Regions from separate parts of the Homo sapiens genome. Here region 2 is linked to region 1. Evidence: promoter capture Hi-C in human tissues and cell types (Jung and others, 2019). All regions are on one chromosome and are shown on one strand. Each heading gives the region's core, a stretch centred on a gene start or on the middle of the fragment in contact. The rest is flanking DNA. Distances are from core to core; before and after follow the strand shown. Region 1 holds the start of SIGLEC11 (sialic acid binding Ig like lectin 11). Region 2 overlaps VRK3 (VRK serine/threonine kinase 3).

Region 1 (5,183 bases), core at 812-3,311:
ACCAGGGGCTTCCCTCTGGGTAAAGGGAACTATCCTGGACACTGAGGTGGGGGAAGTGGGTGGGATAGAAGGGCAGGGCAGAATCACCCACTGAGTCCCAGACACAAACTGCATGAGGGTCTACACAGGTAAGAAGGTCAGTCCCCGAGGCCTGGGGTTCAAGACCCCCTCAGCTCTGGGACCCTGAGCCCAGCCCCTGTATCCCTCTGCCCTCCCAATGGACTCCAGGCCCCTGCTAGGCACACTCACACTGCACAGAGAGGTCCAGGGCTTGCTGCTGGGAGCCAAGCCTGTTCTCCGCTCGGCAGGTGTAGCGCCCTGAATCCCCGGCCCTTACCCCACGCAGCTCCAGCCCCAGGGTTCTGGGGCCCCAGGGGTGGGACGAGGAGAGGACTCTGTCCTGCAGGACCCAGCTCAGCGTGGCAGGGGGCTGGCTGTCAGCAGCACAGAGGAGCCGCAGGAACTGGCCTTTCTGAACTTCCAGATATATGACGTTTCCCTGGAGTTCCAGGGCTGAAGACAGGGAAAGAGAGAGGGTGGGGGTGGAGAGAGAGAATGGGTGGGAGGGGGGGCTGCAAAGAGGACCACATCCCCTCACCCCCCTGAAGCCTTTTCATCCCTAAAGAGGACTGGCCCAGCCCCAGCCCGAAGGCCCTCAGTACCTGACGTGTTGTCATGTGAAATGCTGATAATAAGGTCTTTGGGGGCATCTGCAACAAGATTGTGAGCTGGCTTCAGGGAGGGACAATTTGTTCCTCACACCTGGAAAAAACTCCCTCAGGGAAAAGAAAGTGGGAACATCCCAGGATGGACAAGTGACAACCAGCTCCAGGGCTCACACATGTGGACAGAGGATCAGACGCCATTCCCATCCCCCTCCCAGGGCTGAGCCGGCATCCTGGGACCCCACAGCTTCCTCTCCCTGGATGCTCCTGAGCTGGGAGCCACTCACTGTCCCGCTGGGCTCCTCCACCTCCCCACCCACCGGGGCTGTCTGCACGCCCCACCCTCCCAGGCCACACTCACAGGCCACACGGAGTCGGACGGTCCTCTGTGCGCTCACACCCTTTCTGGAGAAGTCCACATGGCAGGTGAGGTCGGTGTCGTGGTCCTGGGGGCTGGGCGTGAAGCTGAGCACTGAGAAGTGGGAGGTGCTTGGTCTGGTTCTTCTAGGGGAGAGGGCAGCCCCCGTCCAGGAGAAAGAAGGGGCTGGACATTTCTTGAAAGCCCAGTTAAACACACAGATGACCGTCACCGGCTGCCCGGGCTCCAGGGTCTCGGGGATGTAGACATCAGGCTTCTTAGTCAGGGCTGGGACAGAGACCGGGTGGGAGATTCTTGTGCTGCAGGGGTCCCTGAGAGCCCTCTCTGCTCAGCCCATAGCCTGTCCCCAGGGTCCCTCCCCAGTGTGACAGGCAGGGGTTCCCACCCCATTCCATACCTGTTACTTTTAGAAAGAACGCATTGCTCAGGAAACTATGTCTCACACGGCTTCCTCTCTCCACCCGAAAGAAGTACCATGCCTCATCCTCCCTCTGCGCGTCTCTGATCACCAAGGAGCAGCTCCCTTTGCCGGGATCCCCAGTGAGCTGGAATCGGTCCCGGGTGCTCATTTCCACCTCTCGACTCTGGTTGTTAGTGGCCACAGGAGCACCCGTCTTTGGGCTGGTCCGTCCTTTGAACCAGTAGCCATAAGCAGCAGTAGACTCGTCCCAGCCATCCCGGGGGTAGGAGAGGTTGCAAGACACGATGACACACAGGCCCTCCGGCACCGGCACCTGCCTCTGCACTTGAAGACTGTAACTGGGATCCTTGTTCAGGGACCCTGGGGAGATGCAGAGGCTCAGCGGCAGCCCCAGCCCCTGCCTGGGACCCCCAGCCACCGACCCACTCACCCGCCCCCAGCACGGGCAGCAGCAGGGGCAGCAGCAGCATCTCTGGGCTCTGGGGCTGGGCCTGTCCCGGGACCATCTGGCTTCTGGGCCGGCCTGGCTGGGAAGGAAACTCCTCCAGCAGGAAGCCTGGTGGAGGGGCAGTGACCATCCACAGAGGAGGAGCCTCGGGAACCGCTATGTCCTGAAAGCTCGCTTCCCAACTTCTCCTTTCACAGGGGAAGCAGCAGGGCAGAGGGCATGAGGACCAGCCCCAAACCAGGAAGGAGCCACCCTGGCCAGCCTCGGAGGTGGGCAGTGCTAGGAGGGGACTGTCAGGGGACACAGGTGAGTCACGGCTGCAGGTGAGGTGATGGATGCAGAGTCTCATTCATTCATTCATTCTCCAGGGGGCCATGAGACACTGGAAGAGTCTACAAGAACACAGTGATTTATGGTGGGGGCTTTGCACCACGTATTATTGCTGTATCTCCACAGAGGGTAAAAACTAGGTCAGCCACACAGGCAGTCAGCTGCATCTACGTGACCAACCCCCAGTAAAAACTCTGAATGCCGAGGCTCAGGTGAGCTTCCCTGGGTGGCAATACTTGCTGTATGTTGTCACTCATCTTTGCTTCAAGCATTAAGCGCTTTCTGTATGACTTCACTGGGAAAGGACAACTGGAATCCCACATATGGTCTCTTCTGGATCCTGTCCTATGAACCTTTCTCCTTTGTTGATTTTTATTTATTTATTTTTATTTTATTATTATTATTTTTTTGAGATGGAGTCTCGCTCTGTTCCCCAGGCTACAGTGCAGTGGTGGGATCTCAGCTCACTGCAAGCTCCACCTCCCGGGTTCACACCATTCTCCTGCCTCAGCCTCCTGAGTAGCTGGGACTACAGGCGTCCACCCCAACGCCCGGCTAATTTTTTTCTTGTATTTTTAGTAGAGACAGGGTTTTAGCGTGTTAGCCAGGATGGTCTCGATCTCCTGACCTTGTGATCCGCCCACCTTGGCCTCCCAAAGTGCTGGGATTACAGGCATAAGCCACTGCGCCTGGCCATTTTATTTTTATTTTTGAGACAGTCTCACTCTGTCACCCAGGCTGGAGGGCAGTGGTGCAATCTTGGCTCACTGCAACCTCCGCCTCCCAAGGTCAAGTGATTCTGCTGCCTCAGCCTCCCGAGTAGCTGGGACTACAGGCACCCACCCACCACCATGCCCGGATAATTTTTTGTATTTTTAGTAGAGATGGGGTTTCATCATGTTGAGCAGCCTAGTCTCGAACTCCTGACCTCAGGTGATCTGCCTGCCTCAGCCTCCCAAAATGCTGGCATTGTAGGCGTGAGCCACTGTGTCTGGCTTGTTGATTTTTTTTTTTTTAGATGAAGTTTTGCTCTTGTTGCCCAGGCTGGAGCACAATGGCATGATCTCGGCTCACTAAAACCTCCACCTCTCAGGTTCAAGCGATTCTCCTGCCTCAGCCCCCTGAGTAGCTGGGATTACTGGTGCCCACCACCATGCCCAGCTAATTTTTTGTATATTTAGTAGAGATGGGGTTTCACCATGTTGACTAGGCTGATCTTGAACTTCTGACCTCAGGTGATCCACCTGCCTCGGAGTCCCAACATCCTGGGATTACAGGCGTGAGCCACTGCGCCCAGCCCTGCCTTGTTGATTTTTAAAAAGTATTTTTATTAATATGTGATATTTGTACATATTTATGGGGTATATGTGATATTTTGTGCCATGCATAGAATATGGTATAATCAAGTCAGGGTATTTGAATATCTGTCACCTCAAACATTTATTATTTCTATTGTTGGGAACATTTCAAATCATCTTTTCTAGTTATTTTGAAAAATACAATACGTTATTATTATTTTTTAAGACAGGGTCACTCAGGCTGGGCACTGTGGCTCACGCCTGTAATCCCAGCACTTTGGGAGGCCAAGGCGGGTGGATCACAAGGTCAGGAGATCAAGACCATCCTGGCTAACACGGTGAAACCCCATCTCTATTAAAAATACAAAAAATTAGCTGGGCATGGTGGCACGTGCCTACAGTCCCAGCTACTCAGGAGGCTGAGGTGGGAGAATGGCGTGAACCCGGGAGGTGGAGCTTGCAGTGAGCTGAGATTGCACCACTGCACTCCAGCCTGGGCAACAGAGAGAGACTCCATCTCAAAAAAAAAGAAAAAAAAGAAAAAAAAGACAGGGTCTGTCTGTCACCCAGGCTGGAGTGCAGTGGTGAGATCACGGCTCACTGCAGCTTTGACCTCCCCAAGCTCAAGCAATCCTCCCACTTCAGCCTCCCGAGCAGCTGGGACTACAGGTGTGCACTACCACTTAATTTTTATACTTTGTTTTTGATAGAGATGGAGTTTTACCATGTTGATCAGGCTGGTCTCAAACTCCTAGGCTCAAGCGATCTGCCTGTCTCAGCCTCCCAAATTGTTGGGATTACAGGCATGAGCCACCACTACAATATGTTACTGTTAACTATAGTCACCCTACTCTGCTATTAAACATAAGAACTATTCCTTCTATATAACCGTATATTTGTTAGACAGACCTCTTCATTCCCCACCTACTCACCCATGCATCCTTCTAGGGTTCCGATAACTATTATTCTACTCTCTGCCTCCATGAGATCATAGTCCATGATCTCTGTATGCCTTTATGTATCCATAGCTTAGCTCCCACTTAAAAGTGAGAACATAATGGCATTTGATTTTTCATTCCTGAGTTATTTCACTTAGAAATATGGCCTCCAGCTCTGTCCGAGTTGCTGCAAAAGATATTATTTCATTCTTTTTTTATGGCTGAGTAATATTCCATGACAATGGTATACATACCGCTGCCTAGACCAATGTCCTGAAGAGTTTTTCCTAGGTTATCTTCTAGAATTTTTTGGTTTCAGGACTTAGATTTAAGTCTTTGATCCATATTGAGTTGAATTTTTTTTTTTTTTTTTGAGACAGAGTCTCACTCTGTCGCCCAGGCTGGAGTGCAGTAGCATGACCTCGGCTCACTGCAACCTCCACCTGCCAGGTTCAAGCAATTCTCCTGCCTCAGCCTCCCGAGTAGCTGGGACTACAGGTGCCCGCCACCATGCCTGGCTTGTTTTTTGTATTTTTAGTAGAGATGACGTTTCACCATGCTGGTCAGGCTGGTCTTGAACTCCTGACCTCGTGATCCTCCCGCCCCGGCCTCCCAAAGTGTTGGGATTACAGTCGTGACCCACTGCGCCTGGCCTAATTTTTGTATTTTTAATAGAGATGGATTTTCACCATGTTGGCCAGGCT
Region 2 (5,230 bases), core at 1,461-3,960, 47 kb after region 1:
TGTCTGGCCAGCAGGCACTTCCAATTCAAAGATTTCCTATTGAAATCTAGGTTTCAAGCTTTTCCTGGAAAACTTGGAAGATTCTGGAGCCCAGAGCCTAATAATTCACATCTCTGGGATCCATGTTCCTCATGTATAAAATGGGGATAGGGATAGTACTGACATCCTAAGGCTGCGGTGAGAATTTAGCAAACCTCTGCCCATCAAATAACTTGTAAGCAAATATTCATGGCAGCGTTACTCATAACAGCCCAAAGCGGAAACTACCCAAACGCCCATCAGCTGCTAAGTGGCTAAGCCACATGGGGTGTTCCCATACAGCAGAATATCACGCAGCCATAAAAGGAGTGCGGCAGTGACGCGCCACAGCATGGATGCACCTTGAGCACACGCCGCTGGGTGAGGGATGCCAGACACAAGAGGCCACACAGCGCAGGACTCCACTTCTGTGAACACCCAGAAGGGGCAAATCCACGGAGGGAGAAAGGCGGTTAGTGGCTGCCAGTGGACTGGGGGAAGAATCAGAGTGATGGCTCAGAACTACTGGGTTTCTTTTTGGGGTGACAGAAACGTCCTGGAATTAGATAGTGACGATGGTTGCATAACACTCTGAATATCCTGAAGGCCACTCAGTTGCACCCTTTAAAAGAATGAATTTTCGTGGTGGCTCATGCCTGTAATCCCAGCACTTTGGGAGGCTGAGGTAGGTGGATCACTTGAGGTCAGCTGTTCGAGACCAGCCTGGCCAACATGGTAACACCCTGTCTCTACTAAAAATACAAAAAATAAAAATAAAAAAATAAAAAAATTTAGCCCGGTGTGGTGGCATGCGCTTGTAATCTCAGCTACTTGAGAGGCTGAGGCAGGAGAATCGCTTGAACCTAGGAGGTGGAGGTTGTTAAAAGCCGAGATCGTGCCACTGCACTCCAGCCTGGGTGACAGAGCAAGACTCTCTCTCAAAAAAATAAAAAATAATAAATAATAATAATAAAAGAATAACTTTTTGTTTGACATGGAGTCTCACTGAATAATTTTTTTTTTTGAGACGGAGTCTCGCTCTGTCACCCAGGATGGAGTGCAGTGGTGCAACCTCGGCTCACTGCAAGCTCTGCCTCCCGGGTTCACGCCATTCTCCTGCCTCAGCCTCCCAAGTAGCTGGGACTACAGGTGCCAGCCACCACACCCGGCTAATTTTTTGTATTTTTAGTAGAGACAGGGTTTCACCGCGTTAGCCAGGATGGTCTCGATCTCCTGACCTCGTGATCCGCCTGTCTCGGCCTCCCAAAGTGCTGGGATTACAGGCGTGAGCCACCGCGCCTGGCCAATAAAAGAATAACTTTTATGTGAGTTTTATCTCAATTAAAAAGTTCCAAAAAGAAAAGAAAGGAAAAGAAAAACCCATGTAAAGTGCTTAGAACAGGCCTGGCCTTGCAGAAGCACTCAATATTTATTACAGTTAATACTAATACTACTGCCATAATTATTTTCCTCATTGTAACAGAGTCTGAGCTTTTCAGCCTTGTGCCTCCCTCCTCCCCTTCCATCCCACACCTGGGTGAGCGGATGAGCAAGCTTGGGTGCTCCCTCCTTTGGGGTGTGCATCCACGAGACTCAAACCATGCATGGTGTTGGCCCCTGTGCAGAAACCCTGAGCCCAGCCCCACCCCCAAGCACGATGAAACACCTGACCAGTCTCCTTTCCTCACTCTCAAGGCATCTCAGATCTGTGTGGGAGGCCTGCCTGCTCTCCACAGAGACCCCTATTATGTAAGCAATAAACCTCTCACATCCTCTTGGTGTGTGTGTGACATCATCAGTCTCGATGTTTGAACCAAATTTTACGTGGGGATCCATCCTCTCTCTGCACACTGGCCAGAACAACCATCCTTAACATGCAGCCCCTGGGCCTGCACTCCCACGTGACAATAGCAGGTAGCAGGTGGGGTGAGGAGGGGCACACTTCACACAGGGCACATGCCAACTGGCCGCAGTCCCCGCCACTCCCAACTGCCTTACTCCAGCCTGCTGCACTCATTCCCACTATTGCCCGGCCCTGCAGGTGGGTAGGTATAGAGTCCAAGGTCTAAGAGAAAGTTGCCTAGCGACAGGTCTGCAGCTAGGGATGTGGCTTCCATTCCCATTCTCAGAACGGGGTCCCCTCCCACTGTCCTGGTGCTGAGACGACCCAGTCCCTGGCCGCCCATGGACAGAGTGTACCTTCATAGAGAATGCCCTGGTTGTCCCTGGTCTGGAAGGACTTCAGCTTCCACTGTCGCCCACTCTTGTCTGTCAGCACTGTCCCTGTGGGCAAAGCTTCAAGTGAGGTGGTCACTCGGCTCCGCTTCAGCGTCTGAGGGCTCTGCCTGGTCTTCTGAGGGCTACAGCTGGTCTTCTGAGGGCTACCCCTGGTCACCTGAGGGCTCTTCCTGGTCTTCTGAGGGCTGCTTTTGGGGGTTGGGGGTCTGCTCCCGGAGCCTGCAGGAGGATGTAAGAATAAAGTAAAAGCACCATCCAGGAGAGAAAAGTTAGATGGGGAGTGAAACAGCACGCAAAATACTGTTCCTTTACAAATTCGTTCATTCAACAAACATTTCCTGGGACCTTCTATGAGTCAGGCCTTTGTGTGATGATGTTGGGGCACCAGATAGGAGTCGGACCTGCATCCTTCCCTCAGGAGTGCCCAGTTTGGTGGGCAAGTCTGCTCTAGACACAGCTAGTCAGATGCGGGTCTGAGACAGGGCAGTACAGACAGATATTAGGGCCCAAAAGAGAAAGAGATCCTGCCTGGAGAAGTCAGGGTAGGCTTCCTGGAGGAAGGGATGTTAGAGTTGGATCTTGTTGGATGAGGAGAAGTTTGCCAGGGAATAAAGGACATTCTAGACATTTACCCAAAAACATCCTGAAAAAGGACTCAGTCCTGAGATAGAAAAGGGCCAAAAAATTTGTTAGACCAAAGCCCTGCCCTAGAAGGGCTCCTAGCCTGGCAAGAGAATGGGGTGGGTGTGGTGGGAGACAGACTTGGACACAGGAAAAGACATCGCTTACTCTGTTCCTCCCACCCACCATCCCCTAAAGGCAAGTAATGGCAAGAGGCCTCTGGGCCCAGAGGATAATGAGGAGCAAAGGGGACGCCTCACACTGCCACTGTGGCTGTGGCTTCAGATCCAGGGGCTCAGTGAACAGGAGAAGGAACATAGTCCTCAGGCCTCCCGTGTCCTGGGCACTGGCTGGGCAGAGGGTATATACACTAATTGTGCTGGGTCCCTACCTGCAAAGGGCCCCCAGCCCAGAAAGTGAGGCCGAAAGGGATGTGGAGCCTAGACTGACATGCGCTCCAATGAAGGCTGCAGCAGGCACGGGGGGGCGCCAAAGAGGCTGGAAAGAGGCTCTGGCGGACGATGAGGAGGTCTGGATGCGAGCCTATGGCACTCAAGAGAAGCTTCCTAGAGACCAGTATCGGCTGAGTGGCAGTACACAAGGCCAAGAACGAAGGTGAGAGTGCCCTGGGCTGAGGGAACAGGCTTAGCAAAGACCAAGGTTAATCCCCAAAAGTGTTTTCTGGGCAAAGACTGTGTTGAGGGCTAAAGCAGGAACCAGGCCACACAGATACCAGACTGAAGAGCTTGGTCTGAGGGCACCAGGAACAGTAGGGGTCTGTGTGCAGGGAGGGGCCGGGGCAGCTCTAGGTGCTGAAAGACCCATCTGGGGCCATATAGAGGCAGACTGGAGGGGGAGATGGGAGGCTGGGGAAGCTGCTGGAGTCAGAGTCCAGGCAGGGATGGATGATGTTTGAGCCGGGGCTGTGGCAGTTTTGTCCCAAAGATCATCAGATGACCTAACTTTGCTCCACTTAAGAGTCAGGCCAGATAGACCTTAACTCTTACCTTTGGATCTCTCAGAGGAACTCAGAGTATCTTCAGACTCAGAACTGTCACCATCTGAGAAGAGGGATAATCGGGGAGAGGTGACGGTGCTGGACCATTTCACTTTCTTAGGAGAGGTTTCAAAACTGGAGTTCAGCCCTCTCTTTGAGCCTAAAGAAAGGCAGACAAAATGCAGACTGGAGTTACAAAGGCCCCTCTGCAGGCACCATTGGACTGGGAGCCCTGAGGTTATACTCAGCTATGCTGTTCTCTTTGGCCCTCAACACCAATTCTTGCTTCTTCTATTATGTAAATATATGAGCAAACTGTTCCTTTTAGTTGTTCTCTCCTTCTTAGGTCTTTGCCTCTCTTGTATCTTCCAGCACTTTGCCACTCTGTGTCCTTTCCACATAATGTCTTTATATGTATGTATATTTGAGATGGAGTCTCACTCTGTTGCCCAGGCTGGAGTGCAGTGGTGCAATCTTGGCTCACTGCAACCTCTGCCTCCTGGGTTCAAGCAATTCTCCTGCCTCAGCCTCCCAAGTAGCTAGGATTACAGGCATGCACCAACATGCCTGTAATGTTGCTAATTTTTATAGTTTTAGTAGAGATGGGGTTTCACCATGTTGGCCAGACTGGTTTTGAACTCCTGACCTCAAGTGATCGGCCAGCCTCAGCCTTCCAAAGTGCTGGGATTACAGGCATGAGCCACCATGCCTGGCCTCTTCCATGTAATTTCTTAAAATCTATCTTCCAGTTAACTAATTCTCCCAGCTATGTCTAGTCTGCTGTTTAAACCACCCACCGAGTTTCTGATTACAATAATTATTTTATATATATATACACACACACACACATATACACACATACAATGATTGTGTGTATATATATACACACATACACATATATACATATATAGACACACACATATACATATACACACATACAATCATTAGAGTTTTTATTTGGTTCCTTCTCTTATTTGCCTGTGCAACTTTAACCTATTCCTTCATTATACTTTCAATTTGTTATTTTATTTATTTAAATGTATTAAGCATGCTTTGTAAACATTCTCATCTATTAATTCTAAAGTCTGTGGTCTTGGCAGGTCCGATTCTGCAGTTTGTTGTTTCTGCTGACTCTCCAGCTAGCTTATTTCCTGGTGTCTTTGTAAATCAACAGAGACTGGTACTCATGATCCTTGGATGTTGACCTGTGGTAATTCCCTGATGTTTGTCTTTAAAGGATGTTTTCCAAGAGAAGATTTGTTTATATCAGGCAGGGAGTGGTACCCACATCTCACCACTTTAAGTTAAATGTTCAGCTTGCATTTTGGGGGACCACACAGATCAGTGTGAATTCTG

The links. Contacts are between HindIII fragments. The study calls those that stand out against the background at their distance.
Region 2: a contact is called between a fragment that was not itself captured here and the fragment with the promoter of SIGLEC11 in region 1, in 1 of the 25 tissues and cell types used here (dorsolateral prefrontal cortex).

The regions. Positions count from the first base shown.
Region 1 is chr19:49,959,111-49,964,293 of GRCh38, forward strand. SIGLEC11 (sialic acid binding Ig like lectin 11) reads right to left here and starts at 2,062. Exons shown (of 11, transcript NM_052884.3): 1 at 1,896-2,062; 2 at 1,442-1,825; 3 at 1,027-1,311; 4 at 663-710; 5 at 250-513. The coding sequence starts at 1,971. The HindIII fragment of the contact is 12,874 bases long and covers 1-5,183 here.
Region 2 is chr19:50,005,352-50,010,581 of GRCh38, forward strand. It overlaps VRK3 (VRK serine/threonine kinase 3), which reads right to left. Exons shown (of 15, transcript NM_016440.4): 4 at 3,885-4,034; 5 at 2,218-2,475. Among named protein-coding and RNA genes, the nearest start is that of VRK3, 17 kb to the right of the region's middle. The HindIII fragment of the contact is 3,791 bases long and covers 816-4,606 here.